7 separate regions of the Homo sapiens genome follow, and regions 2, 3, 4, 5, 6 and 7 are each linked to region 1. The links are contacts of gene promoters, found by promoter capture Hi-C in blood cells and fetal thymus (Javierre and others, 2016). All regions are on one chromosome and are shown on one strand. Each heading gives the region's core, a stretch centred on a gene start or on the middle of the fragment in contact. The rest is flanking DNA. Distances are from core to core; before and after follow the strand shown.

Region 1 (2,661 bases), core at 100-2,599:
AAATGGTGGTTTCATTCTCAGCTCTCCTTCAGCAATCCTGATCTGACGCTCCTGTGACAGACATTTGTCCACGTAAATACGGTATGTTTTCTGATTCTTCCTAGCAACTTCCTTTATAAGTAATCCACCCATACATTTACATGTTAATTCTAACAGAGTCCATAATAACGAGTGAGCTATTTTAACAGTGTCAGCAGAGACAGATTAAAGAATTGATGAAAAGTAATTCCGTGCAATTTAGGGATTACTCATCTTATTTTCACTAACAGATGACTGCCATCTTGTACAGATGTATTTCGCATACAGAAAATTACATTTAATCACAATATTGTTTGGGTGGGTTAGTCTGTAACTTGAAGTAAAATGTATTGACAGGATAAAATGAAAGCTTTGAAACAGTGCAAAGGTGGAAAAACGAGGTTGAGCGAGAAGCAGGAATTACCAATCTTCATGGTTAGAAGATTCATTAAACGCATTTGCCTTCAAATATTAGATTCTCTACAGAATGGTGGTAAAAAGGCCAGTGAGAAATTAACAATAGTGAGAACACCAGAGTAGTGTTAAACCACCTTGATAATCAGATGGCTCGGAGCAGTTTAAAGCCCTCACGAAAGAGGATTTTTTTTTACCTTCCCTGTCTCCCGCAATTAATGCCATTTCTAAAAGAGAAAATATGTCACACATCAGCGCTCAATAGGCTGACATGCTCCTCAAAACGTTCCTTAAAAAAAAAAAAAAAAAAAAAAAAAAAAAAAAAAAACTTGTGTGCAAATATTTCAGATGCCATTCCACCCCAAACCCGTTCCAAAACCTAAAAATCACTTTCAAGCCAAACTCACGGCTCGTTGGTGATTCACAGCCAGGATCTCGAGGCAGGAACAATAGTGCACTCACCCCGCATCCTCCTGAATCAGCCATTTCGGTAAGAAGATCCAGAAGCACTAGCAGTTTGTTTGTAATTTGTTTACAATTTAAAAGCAAGTTATTTCCCAAAGGAAATCTAAGCAATTGTTAAGTGTTTTACATTACGCAGTCGCCAATTTTACAATTCATATCATGAACCCACTTTGCCCTCCGCCCGCGTCCCTCTCGGAGCCCACGACGCTCAGCAGTCGAGCCCTGGCACCGCACAGCCCGTAGGAGCCTGGAGCGCTCCGCGTTTTGCCCCAATTTCCCTACTTGGGGGTCTCCGCTACAGCTAGAGCGGTCGGCCAATGGAGACCTTCTCCCGCACTCGCCGTCCCGCCTTCCAGTTCCACTGAAGCCAATAAAAAGGGCCGTCTGGAGACAGAAGCCAATGGGAGCTCGGGTAGAGTCATCATGATTGGCTGCGGTCTCTTCGTAGTGCAGTCTAGGCCTCCGCCTCCGTTACCCTGGAGCCCAGGTTACCGCCGCTGCCACCCAGGAGCCCCGATCCTCGCCTCTGTCCCATCCTTGTGTTCAAACCTCCCGCATCTCGGCAACCTCGGCACCCGCCCGGCAGCCTCCGCAGGAACCAGGCACCCGCTCTTTGGCGGTCAGACGCCGAGGCCCCAGCTGGGAGTTTGGTCCTAAGAGGGAAGGCAAGGAGGCGGGACGCCGCATCGGCTCTGCTGAAGAGCCTGCGGGTTGGAGGTGGGCTTTGAAGTGGGCGTGGAGACGGCGGGGGAGGTGGAGGTGCGAGGTGAGGCTGGGTTGAAGCGTCTGGTAGCTAGTGAAGGGGCGTTCGTGGATGGGGGCCTGCGGGTGGTTCTTAAAGCAGGGAAGATGAAGGGATTAGGGATGGGGGAGGATGTAGGGACCGCGAGGAGAAGGAAGACCTAGGAAAATGAGTAAAGAGCTCGGCTTCTGAGAGGGTCCCGAGGAAGGGAGGTTGACCGGCACTGGGGGGACTGGGAAGTTAGGAGGAGAGGAGCTGGGAAAGGGTATTTACTTCCTGGGACCGAGAAGAGAAGAAAGGGAGCAAGCGGATCTAGAGAAGTGGTTGTTATTAAAACAAACAAAACAAAAACCCCGGAGGCCCGTGGAGACTCAAGACTAGAGAGGAGGGGCAGGGCCAAGGGCCAAGACGGAAAAGGAGGCTTTGGTAGCTCTCGGATAATAATAGATGTGTTATTATTAAAACTGTGGTTAGAGTGGAAAGCCGTACTTGTCCAGGCTGTGATACTTCTATACATCCTTCAGGGATGGGATGAGAGGAGTAAAGATGGTTAGAAATAAAAGAAAAAAGAAAGTGCCTTTTTGGCATACTCGAGTTGGAGTCGGTACTCAGATACGTGATGTTTACGTTAGATAGACCGTGGGATAGTGTTTAACAGTGAAGAGCCCTGGTCCAGTTCATCTGATATAAACCCCTTTTTTGTTCACTTTGTTCTTTGGAAAGTATACTTGGGCACATACATATTTATTCCCCTCCTTTATCTTCACGTTAAGAACTTGCATTAGAGATATCTTTGCAATCAGAAGTCATCATTTAGTTTTTGGCAGAGGGAGTGGCTATATGTGTTTTAGAATGGTAAAACCGATGTTTCCAGTTCTTTACTCATTCCCTCTTTCTTTTGCATGGTTATTTTAATCTATGTTTTTTTCCAGTTGTTCCACATTTAAATTCTATATTACCATTTTAAATATTTCACTTTGTGATTTCCCATGTTAGCTAGTATGTTTATCCAAATAAGTTAT
Region 2 (2,661 bases), core at 101-2,600, 680 kb after region 1:
ACAGTTGGTGAGAATGTGGGGTTCAAAAGGGCAGGCACATGATCTACAGCTGTGATGGTTTAGCATTTATATGGAATATGTTCTGCTACCTCAGATAATGGGAATACAATTGATCTAGGAGCCTAGGAGGGCTAGAAGCAAGGAGCCAGCAAGTCTAGACACATTCCAGAGGCCATTATGTCAGACATGCAAGCCCTGCCTCAGTTTCTTTTCCCAACACTCAGCTTTTTCCCAACAGTGCATGTCTGTAATCCCAGCTACTTGAGTGGCTGAAGCAGAAGAATTGCTTGAACCCAGGAGATGGAGGTTGCAGTGAGCCAAGATCATGCCACTGCACTGTAGCTTAGGCGACAGAGTGAGACCTGGTCTTTAAAAAATTAATAAAAATAAAAAACACGGTCCAATTTAAAAAAAGTAAAGTTTACTAATTAAAGCATGTTTTTAAACCAGCATTGTGTTTTTAAAAGGCAAAGGCATTTAGAGTAAAATGGCCTGCATTTTTAAGATTGGTGAGCTGTGTAATTCATCTCTTGTGAGGCCCAGTTGCTTTATTTTTTTATTTTTTATTTTTTTTTTGAGACAGAGTCTTGCTCTGTCACCAGGCTGGAGTGCAGTGGCACGATCTTGGCTCACTGTAACCTCCGCCTCCCAGGTTCAAGTGATTCTCCTGCCTCAGCCTCCTGAGTAGCTGGGACTACAGGTGTGCACCACCATACCCAGCTAATTTTTTTTTTGTATTTTTAGTAGAGACAGAGTTTCACCATGTTGGCCATGATGGTCTTGATCTCTTGACCTCGTGATCTGCCTGCCTTGGCTTCACAAAGTGCTGGGATTACAGGTGTAAGCCACTGCACCCGGCCTGCTTTATCGTTTATGTGTGTATATACATATATATTTATATATATATTTAATGGGCCAAAAATATTATGAACCAGTGGTACTAGAGTTCCACTTAGGGAACTGGGCACTGTCTTCATTTAGAAAAAATGCCTTGATAAGCTTATCTGAGTGTGGAAGGTGAGGCCTTGAGTGTGAGTTCTAGAAGGTGATTGCAATACAAAGAACTAAACAGTTGTGTACAAAGAAATGAATAGAGATGTGGGAGGAGAAATGCCAGAAAGAGAAGGGGGAGGAATTAGAGAAAAGGCCATGCAAGATAGATAGGAGGCTGAATCCTGTGGAGAAGGAGACAAATGCCTTGATAGCAATAGTGGCCATAACTTTAAAGACCACAGAAGTCTAATTTACAATGTTTAGTTGTTGGCATCTTGGCAATGTAACAACATGACTGTGTTGCATTGTGATTTGGGAGAAATCAAGGAAAGAAGCTATGTGTATAACAAAGATAAGGAGCATCTGCAAAGGGCAAGATATGTGAGATCAAGAGTTCAGCAAAAGTGGAAGACACAGTCAATTATGAGAAAGCAAGTCCATAGGATTAAGAACAATGGAATTTCCCACAGGAGCCTGTCTCAGAGGATGAGATTCCAGTTGACAGATCAGATAACTGGATTGACAGAATGGTTGTGCAGATATTTAAAGGTTTGCAGCACAGTGCTTGACACGTGGCAGTAAAAACTTAACGCACTCAACTTCAATGGTCTTGTATAGTCTGGCATCACAACTTTTGGAGCTGAGACAGCCTTAGCTTTGAGAATTATCTGAGCAATTAGTACAGAAGTTTTGATGGAACAAAGCTTTTCCATGATTTCTAACAAAGCATGGAGGAAAACTGCTTATCTGAAAATGCCATTCACCCAGTTAAGAGACAGTACCTGTTAGACAAAAAGATTTAACTGAAGTTGTGTGCCCATGAGGATAAAGTTATGACTTGTCATCTTTTTTCCCCAGACTTTTATGCTTCTCATACAAAGCATAAATTATACTTCTCATACAAAGCTAGAGAATATAATAAACTATAAGAACCATAGAAGATTGTCCGAAGGAGGCTTACATTAGATAAATAACATTCAGGGAATGACAATAGAACTGAAAAAGAAACTATATTCTCTCGGAAACATGTTCATAAAATTCAGTACATTCAAGAATACTGATTAATAAGATATAGAGGTGGATGAAGTGCTCCTGAGATGCAATGAATATAAAAATAGAGAAAAAACATAGAAAATGACTAGTAGTATCCTTGGATCAGCCCCTTTTCACAACCATAATCATTATTCTGTCATAGTCATAGTTTTCCTGTCTCTTTGCTTCCAGACTTTCCTTCCTGAACCAATTGTCTAATTCAGTGGCCACTAAAAGAGTTTTATCATTGGTATCAGCAATTTTGAGTCTAAAGTGATCTTTCATATCAAATTTAAGTTTCAAATCTGTGAACTTCAGGGTTTCCTATGAGTGGTTCCAGCACTTTTTACCTTACTGATCTTTTGATGTGCCTTGATTTCCATCTCATTTATAGCCAGATTAGTTTAATGATTTTCATATACACCTAACAATTTTATATACACTTCATAGCCAGCTCACTAGTCATCTGTCCAGAAGAAAATGTTCTAATTTCCTATTAGTCATTTCATGTTCTGTCCTTCCCCCATTATAATTAATTTTTGTTCACTCAGAAATATCAGGGATTAAATGATTCTGAATTTTTGGGCAATGTGGCTGATTTAATACAAGTAGTCTATGCAAATTATCAACATTGAA
Region 3 (2,661 bases), core at 78-2,577, 660 kb after region 1:
TTCATCAAGTCTCCTTAGTCTCCTCTGGTCTCTTGATAGTTTCTCAGTCTTCCTTTGTTTTTCATGACCTTGAAAGTTTTGGTCATGTATTTTGCAGAATGTCCCTCATTTTGACATTGATGTTTTCTCATGATTAGACTAGAGTTATAAATTTTAGGAAAGAATACCATAGAGGTGAAATGCCTTTTTAATCACAACACATCAGGCAGTACATGGTATCCACATGACACTACTCCAAATACTAATACTGGTCACTTGGGTAAAGTAGTGTTTGCCAGTTTCCTCCACTGTAAAGTTACTATTTTCCCCTTTCCATACTTTATTAATTGGAAGCATGTCACTAAGTGCAGCCCACACTCACTCAATAAATACTACTTTATTTCTTTTGTTGCTCAATTGTTCTAGCTTTGGCCATTGGGACTTCTTTCAGGTTGGCTCCTTTATCTGTTTGACATACCCCTTTCCTTTACTTTTTGAGCACTTTCTTACTTTCTGTTGCAAGATATTATAGGCTTATGCAGTTTCCTTGCCCCAGTCCTAGAATAAGCCCTTTCTCCAAGAAGCATAGTACCTTTTCTTTGAGATTTATGTAGAACCAAGATCTGAATGCTGAGACTGCTCACTGCTATTGGGGTGTCATTCCTTCTAGGCTCTCTCAGTGGACAGAGCTAGGTTACATATATATATGCATAGACATATATATACGCACACAGATACTAACTTACATGTAAAATTTTCTGTATTTTTCCACCTGTACAATATACAAAGGTAAACATGAGTTCACACTGATGTTTTCAACTCTAATCCTGAATCACAGAATTCATTTTAACCTTCCATTTTTATCTGTAACTTCCCTCTCTGATAGTGAGAAACCTGGCTCCCACCATCCACTATCCACTTATTTATTTGTTTAACCCCAGTATATACATGTAAAGCACTTTCAGACTTATTAACAAATACCCCTTTGGAAAACTTATTTACCAACTAGAGCATGGAGTTTTTGTATCTTTATTCTTCATCCTTATAATTTCCAGTCAAAACACCATTTTCCAGTAATTTAGGACAGTCCCTGCCCCTATCACCTTAAGCACAGTTATGTCACTCATTTGTAAGAACTGGGTTCATTTGTCAAGAGAATAAATTTTATCCTGGGATTGATCCTGTGATAGGCTCTTTGATGCCTTTTTCCTCCAGTTTACATACATCAAGCTTCACTATTTGTGATTTACAGCTCTATGAGGTTTGACAAATGCATAAAGTCATGTATGTACCACTCCAGTACCATAAAGAATAGTTCTTTCACCTTAAAAATTTCTCCGTGCATCTCTTTTAGTCAACCACTTTGCCCTCCAACAGATTGTTAACCACTAATCTGTTTTCGTTCCCCATAGTTTTGCTTTTCTCCAGAAGATCATATGAATAGAATCATAAAATTCAAAGCTTTTGGGTCTGGCTTCTTTCACTGACTAATATGCAGCTAAATTCACTCACATTGTTTTGTGAATCAATTCTCATTCCTTTTTATTGCTGAATAATATTCTTTTGCATGGATGTACCACAATTTTTTTAATCCATGCCACTGCTGAAAGACATCTTGGCTGCTTCCAGTTTTAGAAGTTATGAATAAAGCTGCTATAAACATTTGTGTACAGATTCTTATATGTACTTACGTTTTCAATTCACTTCGGCAAATTATCCTAGAATGCTGACTTCTATGGTAAGTCTATATTTAACTTATAAGAAACTATAAGACTACCTTCCAAAGTGGCCATATAATTTTGCAATCTCACCAGCAATGAACGAGAATTCCTGTTGCTCTGTATCCTTCCCAGCATTTGGTATCAGTGTTACTGTATTTAAGCCATTCTAATAGGTACATAGCAGTATTTCATTGTGGTTTTATTTTCCATTTCCCTATTGACAAGTAATGTTGAGTATCTTTTCATGTGCCTATTTGCCATCTGTATAAGTTCCTTGGCGAAGTGTCTGTTAAGATCTTTTGTGCATTTTTATTGAGCTGTTTGTTACTGCTGAATTGAGGTCTATATATGTTCTTGATACAAGTCCTTCATCAGCTATGTAATTTACAAATATTTTCTCCCAGTCTATAGACTGACTTTTCATTTTCTTAACAGATACAAGTCCTTTATCAGCTATGTAATTTACAAATATTTTCTCCCAGTCTATAGATTGACTTTTCATTTTCTTAACAATGTTTTTCACAAAGTGAGTTTTTAATTGTCATAAAATACAATTTATCTTTTTGTTTGTTTCATGGACTGTGCTTTTTGGTAACACAGGTTGAGCATCCTAAATGTGAAAATCCAAAATTCGAAAAGCTCAAAAATTCAAAACTTGTTTTTAAGCACAAACATGATGCTCAAAGAAAATGCTCTTTGGAGAATTTTGAATTTTAGATTTTTGGATTTGGGATATTCAATCATTAAGTATATAATGCAAATATTCCAAAATAAAAATCTGAAATCTGAAACATTTCTGGTCCCAACATTTCAGATAAGGGATACTCAACCTCTGTATCTAAAAACTCATCTTCAATCCCAAGGTCACATAGATTTTCTCCTTTTCTTTTTTTCTAGAAGTTTTGTGTTTTACTGTTGGGAAAGGCAATCTCATGCTATAGTCTTTTGATCTACACTCAAC
Region 4 (2,661 bases), core at 117-2,616, 640 kb after region 1:
CTCAGTATTGAGTTTTGAGTGAGCATCTATAAGGGATGAGGCAAAGAGCAGGTTTGCTTCTGTTCATGGATAAAAAGCAGTGAACCCTCCAAGCTCAGTATTCTTTACCTACAACAAAAGCCTGCTGTATATGTAGCCATATTGCATATGGCCATATCATTTTGCCCCCATGGGACCTGGGACAAGGGGAAGCAATGAGAATGTGCTGATGCTCATGCTCCTTGTTGTGCCATGAGTAATAGTCCTTTGTTTCTGTCTGGGAATCTCAAGTCTTCTGTTAGCATCCATGAAGAAGTAACAGGGTAACTACTTAGCTTCTAACTAAAGTAAAATTAAATATCAGACCTGACAGGATGCACTTAAAATTATGTATTTATACTCATTTTTAGTTGTGGAAAATTATTAGGTTTGATGGGATATAGGAATTCTTTTCCATAAAAATTTTGTCTTACAATTTAAAAAATTTAGCTAACTTATTGAAGCCTAGTTTTTACATAAAATTTGGTTTTATATAAAAATGTGGCTGAGAAAATTTTAGCTTAAATATCTTTAAAAATTATGAAATGCAAGGGTCAATATCTGTCCTTATAATAGAAATATTACACATGTGCTTGTATGAACTGTCAGTATATAAGTATGCACATAATACATTTATTATCCAAGAGTGTTTTTCAGAGTAGTCTTTTAAAAATAGAAAGTGAACATAAGTATTCTGTGGGACTATATTCAAAGATTTATAGATTTTGGAAAGAAATAGCTTATCTCCTATACCATATATATATATATATATATATATATATATATATTCAGGACAAACGTAAACATTATAAAAAGTATAAAAATAGGTAAAAAGATACAAGTACAATATAATTTGTTTGGAATTTCAAAGGTGCTTTTTTCTCTTCTCTTTTCCCTTTACCTCAAAAGTTATAAATACTTTTGAAGCAGCATGTATTGTTGCACTTTTGATTTTTTGTTGTACAGTTAATGAACTTGAGAGTCTGGATGACTGGTGATCATCTATTTGGCCTTCCCATTCTTTTGTTTCTTCTTCTTTGATTAGTAAAGGTTTTCCTAAGGTTTGGCCAACAAGGTTACAGACTTCTTGAGCTTTGCGCCACGCATTCTCAACAGCAACAAGACAGGCTTGCCGTCTTAGGAATTAAATGGAGAGATTATTAATATGACACTCAATGAAATGTAGCACTGGATAGTTTTGTTTAAAGAATATCTTAGTTAAAGATGTGCTTAAACTTACCGAAGATTCTCAACAGAACCTGGAGTATGATAGAACTGGGGTGGGCTGATGACAACAGAGCTATCTAGCTTTTCAACAAGAAAGTTACAAATATTTTGCATTTTTCCAAATTCAGTAAATGTAATGCAGACCTGTAAATGAAATGACACGATATTATTTTCATGTCTGATGTACTGTTTCAAGATTTTCTCTACATGTAAGTAAAAAAAGTATAGCCAGACTATGAGGTCATTTTATAGTATGTAACAGATTTTTAAAAGCCTATTTGATACTTATAACTAAATTATTTTGTTCTTTAAGATTTTTGCTTTTGAATTTTCAAATTTATCTAATATTGTCTTGAATATTAAAAAACTTATATTTTAAACCAGGGATTTTTAAATGAAATTGAAGGAGTTTCCCTTAAACCTTATTACTTGGCTAAATTTTAATCCTGATAACTAGCATGATTCCTTTGTCTAATCAATGCCCTTAGCTTCCTGATTAGTAGTAATCATGCCATACTTCACTGCTATCATTGAGAAATGTTTCTTCTTCCAATAGTTCTGTTCAGATCTATATGTGGAAGCTAATGTATTTCACTCTGTCTTCTGCCTTTAAATATGTGGAAGCAGTCCTTATATTCGGCAATACTTTAAAACCGGTCTGTTAAGTCTTCAATGAAGGGAACTAAACCTTGTCTTTTTTTTTTTTTTTTTTTTTTAAGAGAGACAAGATCTTGCTACGTTGCCCAGGCTGGAGTGCACTGGCATTATCATAGCTCACTGCAGCCTCAAACTCCTGGGTTCAAGCGATCCTCCTACCTCAGCCTTCCAAGTAGGAAGGGCTACAGGCATGCACCACCATGCCCAGCTAATTAAAAAAATTTTTTTTGTAGAGGTGGAGTCTCACTATGTTCCCCAAGCTGGTCTCAAACTCCTGGCCTCAAGCAATCCTCCCACCTTAGCGGTTGTAGACATGAGACACCACACGCAGCCTAAACCTTTTCTTCTAAAGAACCCTTAACACAAGGTCAATATGCAAAACAAAATACAGATACTACAGAATAAGCTGGAGTAGCAGAGAGAGACATAAGATAACCTCACCTTATACAATGCAGAACATCTGTCTTTAATCATAATTTTTTTTTTTTTTTGAGCCAGGGTCTCTTTCTGTTTTCCTGGCTGGAGTGCAGTGGTGTGATCACGGGCTCACTGCAGCCTCAACCCCTGGGTTCAGATGATCCTCCTGCCTCAGCCCCCCGAGTAGCTGGGACTACCGGAACGTGCCACCATGCCTAGTGAATTATATCACTTTTGAAAAAGGTATAGAACTTTGTAACCACCATAACAAAAATTTAGACCTGTTCCAACACCCCTAAAAATTCTCTCAGGTAACTCCTTTATCAGTTCCTTCCCCAGTTC
Region 5 (2,661 bases), core at 99-2,598, 570 kb after region 1:
GAGTCACTTAAATTTGATCTTCATGAAATGTGGATAAATGTATGCCCTGCTGTCTTACCAGGATTTGTGTAAGGATTAAAATATATGTGAAAGTACATTTTTCATTTCAATGTTTTCTGCATATGTACAAACTACTTGCTAAAAAAGTTAACAACAAAAGTGGACAATAAACTTATTAGTCAACGTTATTATGCAACATAGATTAACTTATTTTGATTTTAAGAATAAAATGGTGAAACCAGAAAATAACTTTTCATCTTAACTTATAAGTGTGTATTCAAAGTAATGTTATTTAGAACACTTTGGTTATGATTTAGTGATGTTAAGACAACTTGAGAGAAAGGAGGAGGGAGAAAATATTAGAATTTCTATTAGCTGAAAAGGCATTAGATTTTCTCTTTGCAATTTCAGCTGATACCCTGTATATTGGATTAAAGGAAACACATCCAGGTTGTAAGATTATGACTTTATTTTTTAGGTTTATTATTTCCGACAAGGACATGAAGCCTATGTCGAAATGGCCCGGAAAAATAAAATATATAGTATCAATCCCAAAAAACAACCATGGCATAAAATGGAGCTACGGGTATGACATTGATTTATTATTTAATAGCCCCAAAAATACAATTATGGAATTTGGAGAAAATTGTATCAAAGGTTACTATTAACACAATAAGAAACTGCATCATGAAGATACCTTGTTTAATTGAAGCAGTCCTAGAGAGTAGGAGGTGTTTAATTTTCATCCAGAGAAACACAAGATTTGACTGAATTTATATACTCCAATGCAGTTTATGGGTTGGGTACAAAATTTAGTTATAGTGAAAATTAGGTAATAAGTCTAAAGTAAGCTTTGTATTCGTAAATTTGATGCGTATTTCTAGATTTGTCATCAGTAGTTCAGTTACCAATAGGTCTTTGGAATGGTGATAGAAAACTTACTTTAGTAACTATACTTTAGTAAAGTTCTCCTTATTTTTTTTTCCTTTTTTACGTTTTAAAAATTTCATTGTAACTTGCATACTATAAAGTGCACAAATCTTAATACAGAGCTCAGTGAATTTTTACATGTACACAGTCATCACCATCCAGATCAAGATTTAAACCAAGAAGTTTTTTCTCAACAATGTTTAGCAGTCTATTTTGTGGTTTATTTTGTAAAGATGGTTCCTTATATTCTCTGTCTCTCTCAGGAACAAGAACTTATGAAAATAGTTGGCATAAAGTATGAAGTGGGATTACCTACCCTTTGCTGCCTTAAACTTGCTTTTCTAGATCCTGATACTGGTAAACTGACTGGCGGATCATTTACCATGAAGTAAGGACTGTTGAAAGAGGCAATGGTTTTCTTAGTATTGTAGATTGTTTTTCAAGATTCAGATACATTTGAACATCTTTTAGGTATTTTTAGGTATGTGACCTAATCAATTTGTTTCTGTTTGTAATTAGATACCATGATATGCCTGACGTTATAGATTTCCTAGTCTTGAGACAACAATTTGATGATGCAAAATACAGGCGATGGAATATAGGTGGGTAATTTATTTAGAAGCTATCGATGTTTGATGTGGTTTTTTTTTCTTAGTAAGTGATTTACTATTTTTCATAATTGAGAAAAAGATTATCAGAGAAATCTTTTTGCTATTTGTAGGAATGTTAATAGCAAAGTAAGATACTATGTCAGAGGTATTGTTAAGTTTTGTTTAGGAATGAAAACAGTCGATGTTGAAATTTAAAACATTTTTTCTGTTACATTTGACTTTATTTTCATGTTTTACATGTTAAGTTAAATTTTTGTATAAAAATATTAATAACAATTTAAATTTGAAGCCAAAAGAAGCTTAACAAGATGTATAAGTTTGTACTGGGACTAAAGCTAAACTGACATTTTTCTTTTATTGGTTAATCCTATTATAATCTTTAAAATTAGTATCATAAACAAGTCTCAAAGAAACTAAAATCTGTAAAAGTTTTCAGGCACTTAAGGTGCATTAATTTACATATAGATGATGTGCCACTTATGAGAGTAGTTCTCTTAAAAATTTCATATAGGACCAGTGTGTGTCATGGTATGATGTGTACACGGTATGTATGGTTTGAAAAAGCACATCAATTGATATACCAGTCTGTCCTTCAGTGCCACTAGAACGCATTGACATGGTGGTTTGTCCTTTGTTAAAAACTTGTATGTGCTCTGTAAGGAGAAATTAGGAAAATTTGGAAGCTATCAAAATTATGGACATGGAAGTTAGAAAGAAAATTTACATCTCATGTTCCATTTCCCTAGAAGTTTTGAAAGATGTGTTTCATCAAATAAGGGAGTAACCAAGAAAGGGAAAAGAATGGAATCCCCTCAGGAAACAGGAAGTCCAGAACAGGAAAAGTTAAAAGGAATCCCAAATAATATTCAGTAGAAGCCTCAGGATAGCAGCTACCTAGCAGGTCCAAATCTCCTTCAAGAGGAAAGTCTTCAGGGGGAAAAAATTGGAACACATAACTTATCTAACAAGTTTGTCTTTGTGGAAAATTACATTGAAGAATGTTTTTTACAGCTTGAGCTGTTAGAGATTGTGGGAAGATTTAATTGTAAATTCACTGAAAACCAAGCATTAAAAAAATGAAGCAATTATTAATTTTAGGGAAAACAAAATTATATAAGGA
Region 6 (2,661 bases), core at 68-2,567, 550 kb after region 1:
ATAGAGTTAGAGCCTTGCTCTGGATTAGGCTTTGGCTTAAGGGAATGTTGTAGCTGGTTTAATCTTCTATCCAGACCGCAAAAACTATTTCTGTATCGGCAACAAGCCTGCTTCACTTTCATATCATTCCTGTGTTCACTGGAGTAGCATATTTAACTTCCTTCAAGAGCTTTTCCTTTTCATTGAAAACGTGGTTGTTGGGCACAAGAGGCATAGCTTTCAGCCTGTCTCAGATTTTGACATGCCTTTATCACAGAGTTTAATCGTTGCTACCTTTGATTTAAAGTGAGAGATGTTTTCACTGGATCAGTTAGGGTTTTTAATTGGCCTAACTTTAATATTGTTCTGTCTCAGGGAATAGTGAGGCCTGAGGAGAGGGAGAAGATGGGGCAATGGCTAGTTAGTGGAGCAGTCAGAACACACGTAACATTTGTCAGTTAAGTTCATTGTTCTATATAGGTGAGGTTCATGGTGCTTCAAAACAACTACAATAGAAGCATAAAAAATTACTGACAACAGATCTCCATAATAGATATAATGGTAGTGAAAAAGCCAGAAATATTTTAAGAATTACCAAAATGTGACACAGAGACACGAAGTTAGCATATGTGGTTGAAAAATGGCATTTGCTCATTGCAGGGTTCCACAAACTTGCAGCTTGTGAAAAAAAAAAATGCACTATCTGCAAAGCACAGTAAAACAATGTATGCCTGTGTACACACACACACAAACTAATAGAAACTAATAGAAGTAAAACTGGGGAAGTCTCAGTAAGATCAGTGGATTGTATAAATGTCAGCATCCTCCTTCTGATGTTGTACCATGTTTTACAAAATGTTACCATTTGGGGGAATTAGATAAAGGATACAAAGTTTTGCAAAATGTTACCATTTTGGGCCGGCGCGGTGGCTCACACCTGTAATCCCAGCACTTTGGGAGGCCGAGGTGGGGGGGATCACGAGGTCAGGAGATCGAGACCATCCTGGCTAGCACAGTGGACCCCCGTCTCTACTAAAAATACAAAAAATTAGCCGGGCGAGGTGGCGGACGCATGTAGTCCCAGCTACTCGGGAGGCTGAGGCAGGAGAATGGTGTGAACCCCGGGGGGCAGAGCCTGCAGTGAGCCGAGATCATGCCACTGCACTCCAGCCTGGGCGACAGCGAGACTCCATCTCAAAAAAAAAAAAAAAAAGTTACTATTTGGGGGAACTGGATAAAGGATACAAATAATCGCTGTTATTTCTTACAACTGTATGTTAATCTATAATTATTGCAGTAAAAAGTTTAATTTAAAAAAAAAAAATTAAGAACAAAAAAATTAAATCCAAGCCTGTTCTTTTCACAAGATTTAAATTTGCTCATTTTATTTTCCATTCAGAATTATGGCCAGCCACAATGGAGATTGTGCCGTTAAGTAACATGATAACATTAATATCATCTAGTAAAGAAATATCAACAGTATATAGTTGCACTGTGTTTTAGTATTAACTACCTTCTTATTATAAAATCTTAAGGGAGAATTAAATTTCAAATACCCTTGCATTTCAAAAACTTTAAAGTTGTAAGATATTGAAATAAAAAATAAAATTATCTTCTCATGAGTTCATTTTTTGTATTAAAGTTTAAAATTAGTGTTCCTCAATTTGTGTTGTTCAGTTTCACCTTGATGGTTTGAGTTTTTTCAGTCGGTGAAACCTGACCTCCCTGTCTCTGGAAAGAGTGTAGTTCTTTCAGGGCTTTCCGTGTAACCTCAGGGTCTGTTGTATTGAATTTTTAAAGAGATTCCAGCTATCTATATGGAACAGAAGATTATCAAAGCATAGGCCCTATCCTAAAAAAAAAAAAAAAAATCCAATTTCTCACTCTTGGAAAAATTACCCTAGGAATCACCACATTCCCAGAATCTAATACTTGGTTTGCCAGAGACCATAGCAGGAACCAGTAGTATCAAGTTGGGGTAGACAGAGTTTGTCTTTCCATTATTTCAGTCATTTAATGCCGGATGTCCTGAGCCCACAACCTATGAAATTAAACTTAGAAATCTTTATCACATGCTTCCATCTTAAAATAAAACATCAGGAGTAGCGTTCCTTTCCTGATACCTAACATTCCTTTTGGAGGAAAGTTATGTGTAAAATTCTAGATTAATGCATATGGCTTTTGTCTTTCAGTAGGCAAGAAGAATGGAGAACTGCAAAGGGAGAAGAAGAAATAAAGACTTACAGGTCAGAAGAGAAAAGAAAACACTTAACTGTTCCAAAAGAGAATAAAATACCCACTGTCTCAAAGGTACATATTAATTATTTTGATGTTTAATATTTGCTTCTTAAGTATAGTGACCATTTTAAGGCTCCATTTTGTAATTTAACATGGTATTATAAACAGGTTAATGATAAAAATTAACATAGTAAATCTTGGTTATCTCTGGATTATCTATTGTTTACTATTTAAAATTTTTAATTCCATTTCTGCTTTGTAGCATACCCTTTCCCAAAGTGCCAATTCTTACATACTCATGAAATTCTAATAAATTACACTGAAGCCTCATCAAGAACTTTCTTTAGCTCTTCATAATCTTGTGTGCCATCTTTGTACAGTCTAAAAATAGCATTTTGTTATGTTTTTCTATGTGTTTTTGTGGTGTCTTGCATCTATTCATTA
Region 7 (2,661 bases), core at 108-2,607, 520 kb after region 1:
CAACTTACCGAGCAGTGTTTCTATTTACTGTATGAAGTATTAAGGTCTCCTCAACTACTGCAGTTTGTGTAGTCATATTTTTTAAATGTCTACTTTCTGTATATTAGAGATACCTTTCAACAAAGAACAAAAGAAAAAACAGTTTCCACTATTTCAGCATGTTTAAATTTTTTTAAAAAACCAATTATAGAAATCTTTAGTAATGAACCATAAAACAATACAATTAGTACATGTGGTCAGAATTATTTTGCCAAATAAATTATTTCACAAAACAGTTGTGAAACATGGTTTGTGAAAAAATTACACGAATGTGATGCTATGCTTGATTGATAATCAGAGTAAAGTTATTTCTATGTCGTGAGTAAGCAGATATAATAGCAGATTTTTTAGTGAGGGAAATAGCTTTAGCTATCTTTAAGGCTGTGCCTTAGAATACATTAGGTAAGAAATAAGGTTTGTAAAACCCTCTATTTCTAGAAAACAGTGTTAATTATTTGGTGTGCACTTGTTAGTGATGGATGGATTTCCTTTGTGATTGTATTGAGATTTTTTTAAAAAGCCACCTGTAAATATGCTAGTAAAAAATATTTTCTGCTTTTCTATCCTTGTGTTTCTGATTTGCTCCTTTTTGGAATATCTGTTGAATAAGGAAATTAGTCATTTCTCAATCTGTCTTTATAGCTTAAAAAAAATAATATGTGAGCTATATATATACTAGTGGCTTCATTTAGTAGTTTTGTATTTCCAAAGGACATTATTATATTGGTAGAGTGTTTGGAGGGAAACTTTTCTCCCATAATTGAATACCGCTTTAACTTTTCAGTTATATAAAGGTGAATTTTCCCTTATCAGGTAAGTTGGTCACACTAATATTCTACCTTTTCAGTAGATAACAAAAACTGCAGCACCTTGAGAGTTAAGTGATTTGCTCTTAGACCATTAAAAATTAGTAATGTAACCAGGAGTAGAAGTCAGCCATAATATATTGTATATTTTTAAAAATTAGCTGAGGGATTGGTTACATTACTGCCTTAAAAATTGTTTATTGTTAAATAAGAGTGTTAGATGAGGATATTTTTCTGGTTCTTTTTATGGATAAGAGATAGGAAAACTCTAAAGAGCAGAAGAAACAAATACATGTAATAAGTTGAATTGGATAGTATTCATAGAATTGCAGACAGTGAGCAAAACATAAACCAAAAAAGCTAAAAAACAGAAAGTGAGCCACCCTTCATCTCATTAAAATAAAGATACTACCTTTAATTTTTTGTATGATGTTTAATGGTTTCCAAAATGCTCCCACATATTTTACCTCCTTTGGGTCTCATGAAAACCTTGTAAGATGATCAAGATAGATTTTATTATTCTTGGTCTTAGGAATGGAGAAACTGTACATTACAGAGATAAAGTGCTTTGCCCCAATTTACTGAGTTCACACAGCTATTATGCGGGCACTTGGAGCATAAACCCATGACTCTGGTTGTACTCAAATCTTGTCATGGTTGGCTTTTTGAGCTTTTGTCAATGTTACTGCATAGCTAACTTTTAACAATACTCAGTTAGTGATATGTCTATGAAGAAATGTTTTCATAATGGTAATAAATCTGAGTGGATCTTTTGACATCTTACTCTTTAACTTGATTTTTTTTCCTGTCTGTCTTTTATGAGTTATCTAATTGCCCTAATTCTTTTTGCTCTTCACTCTTTTGTTCTTTTCATTGCTTGTTTTATTTATGGGCAAATGGAAGATAAAGCATCCAGCATTGCTATTAAGAAAATAAAGAGAAACAATTCGAGGGAGGGCCTGCGTTCTCACTGCTTGCTATCATGAATGTTGAGTTTTGGCTATAATTATAGCTATTTGGCTCTCTGTAGCTAATCAATAAGTTTTTCAGTTACTAAAATACCACGATACTTGATTGCATACAAATTTAATCCCTAATGTTAAGTTGTAGTAGTAATCACAAGTTCAGTTTAGTAAATATTTTTTGAGCACCATGTGAAGGGTCTAGTCATATATAGTGCTTTGGTCTATTAGAGGATGAAGAATTCTGGTGGAATACTCCTTTTTTGACTAGAAATGGTGAAAGTTATGTGAAGTATTTTTAAGATTAAATAATATTTCATGTGACTGTTAAAACTGAAGTTTATAAAACAGATAAGTAAACTCACCATTCCACCTACAGCTAGAAAATAAGGAATGTAGACTATACCTTTAGAATAACAGTTTTAGTACAAATTTCTTAAATACTGGTTTTTATCAAGTATATTTTAAGAATACTTTAATATTTCTCCTGCTTTTTGAATAATAATTGAATTTTCCATTGGAAATTTATACCTTTGCAAAAGATAATGGAAATCATGTAACATATAATTTAGTATTTTGTATTCATCAGCATTTTACTGCATTTTTTGTGTAATTATGGAAATGTAAATTCTTTTTTTGAAATTTTAGAAATAGCCAAAAATCCTGTTATGTTAAAAAGCCTTTCAAGTGAAAAGGTGAACTTTCAAATGCCTGTTTGATACATAGTAATTACATTTTAATAATTTTTAAATATAAGATTATAAAACATTAATATTTTAATATTGCACTGATAGTCATCATTGTAATAAGTATTCTAATTTTTTTCTGTATCAAGCCATGACTTATACTTTTAA

The links. The method cuts DNA at HindIII sites, captures the fragments that hold promoters and counts their contacts. A CHiCAGO score of 5 or more calls a contact.
Region 2: a contact is called between a fragment that was not itself captured here and the fragment with the promoter of LCA5 in region 1, in 4 of 17 cell types (fetal thymus, erythroblasts, naive B cells and 1 more). The highest score is 7.3, in fetal thymus.
Region 3: a fragment that was not itself captured here is called in contact with the fragment with the promoter of LCA5 in region 1 in 4 of 17 cell types (megakaryocytes, total B cells, M2 macrophages and 1 more); the score reaches 6.1 in megakaryocytes.
Region 4: a contact is called between a fragment that was not itself captured here and the fragment with the promoter of LCA5 in region 1, in 3 of 17 cell types (monocytes, M2 macrophages and M1 macrophages). The highest score is 6.5, in monocytes.
Region 5: a contact is called between a fragment that was not itself captured here and the fragment with the promoter of LCA5 in region 1, in 6 of 17 cell types (megakaryocytes, erythroblasts, endothelial precursors and 3 more). The highest score is 14.9, in megakaryocytes.
Region 6: a contact is called between a fragment that was not itself captured here and the fragment with the promoter of LCA5 in region 1, in 1 of 17 cell types (erythroblasts). The highest score is 5.6, in erythroblasts.
Region 7: a fragment that was not itself captured here is called in contact with the fragment with the promoter of LCA5 in region 1 in 2 of 17 cell types (megakaryocytes and erythroblasts); the score reaches 6.3 in megakaryocytes.

What each region holds. Positions count from the first base shown.
Region 1 is chr6:79,536,118-79,538,778 of GRCh38, reverse strand. It overlaps LCA5 (lebercilin LCA5), which reads left to right and starts at 1,349. Exons shown (of 8, transcript NM_001122769.3): 1 at 1,349-1,614. It also overlaps a transcript of SH3BGRL2 not described here. RefSeq lists enhancers at 1-305, 836-885, 880-1,453. The HindIII fragment of the contact is 3,782 bases long and covers 391-2,661 here.
Region 2 is chr6:78,851,691-78,854,351 of GRCh38, reverse strand. All of the region lies in intron 1 of LOC107986613 (a long non-coding RNA gene), which reads left to right. Among named protein-coding and RNA genes, the nearest start is that of IRAK1BP1, 15 kb to the left of the region's middle. The HindIII fragment of the contact is 698 bases long and covers 1,002-1,699 here.
Region 3 is chr6:78,880,053-78,882,713 of GRCh38, reverse strand. All of the region lies in intron 1 of IRAK1BP1 (interleukin 1 receptor associated kinase 1 binding protein 1), which reads right to left. Among named protein-coding and RNA genes, the nearest start is that of IRAK1BP1, 14 kb to the right of the region's middle. The HindIII fragment of the contact is 231 bases long and covers 1,212-1,442 here.
Region 4 is chr6:78,896,557-78,899,217 of GRCh38, reverse strand. It overlaps IRAK1BP1 (interleukin 1 receptor associated kinase 1 binding protein 1), which reads right to left. Exons shown (of 4, transcript NM_001010844.4): 3 at 1,259-1,389; 4 at 1-1,154. The coding sequence ends at 884. Among named protein-coding and RNA genes, the nearest start is that of IRAK1BP1, 30 kb to the right of the region's middle. The HindIII fragment of the contact is 6,600 bases long and covers 1-2,661 here.
Region 5 is chr6:78,968,706-78,971,366 of GRCh38, reverse strand. PHIP (PHIP subunit of CUL4-Ring ligase complex) reads left to right here. Exons shown (of 40, transcript NM_017934.7): 25 at 479-586; 26 at 1,194-1,318; 27 at 1,450-1,532. It also overlaps a transcript of IRAK1BP1 not described here. Among named protein-coding and RNA genes, the nearest start is that of IRAK1BP1, 100 kb to the right of the region's middle. RefSeq lists an enhancer at 1-153. The HindIII fragment of the contact is 989 bases long and covers 854-1,842 here.
Region 6 is chr6:78,990,496-78,993,156 of GRCh38, reverse strand. It overlaps PHIP (PHIP subunit of CUL4-Ring ligase complex), which reads left to right. Exons shown (of 40, transcript NM_017934.7): 20 at 2,172-2,289. Among named protein-coding and RNA genes, the nearest start is that of PHIP, 86 kb to the left of the region's middle. The HindIII fragment of the contact is 3,230 bases long and covers 1-2,661 here.
Region 7 is chr6:79,011,867-79,014,527 of GRCh38, reverse strand. All of the region lies in intron 15 of PHIP (PHIP subunit of CUL4-Ring ligase complex), which reads left to right. All of the region lies in intron 1 of LOC124901346 (a long non-coding RNA gene), which reads right to left. Among named protein-coding and RNA genes, the nearest start is that of PHIP, 65 kb to the left of the region's middle. The HindIII fragment of the contact is 7,812 bases long and covers 1-2,661 here.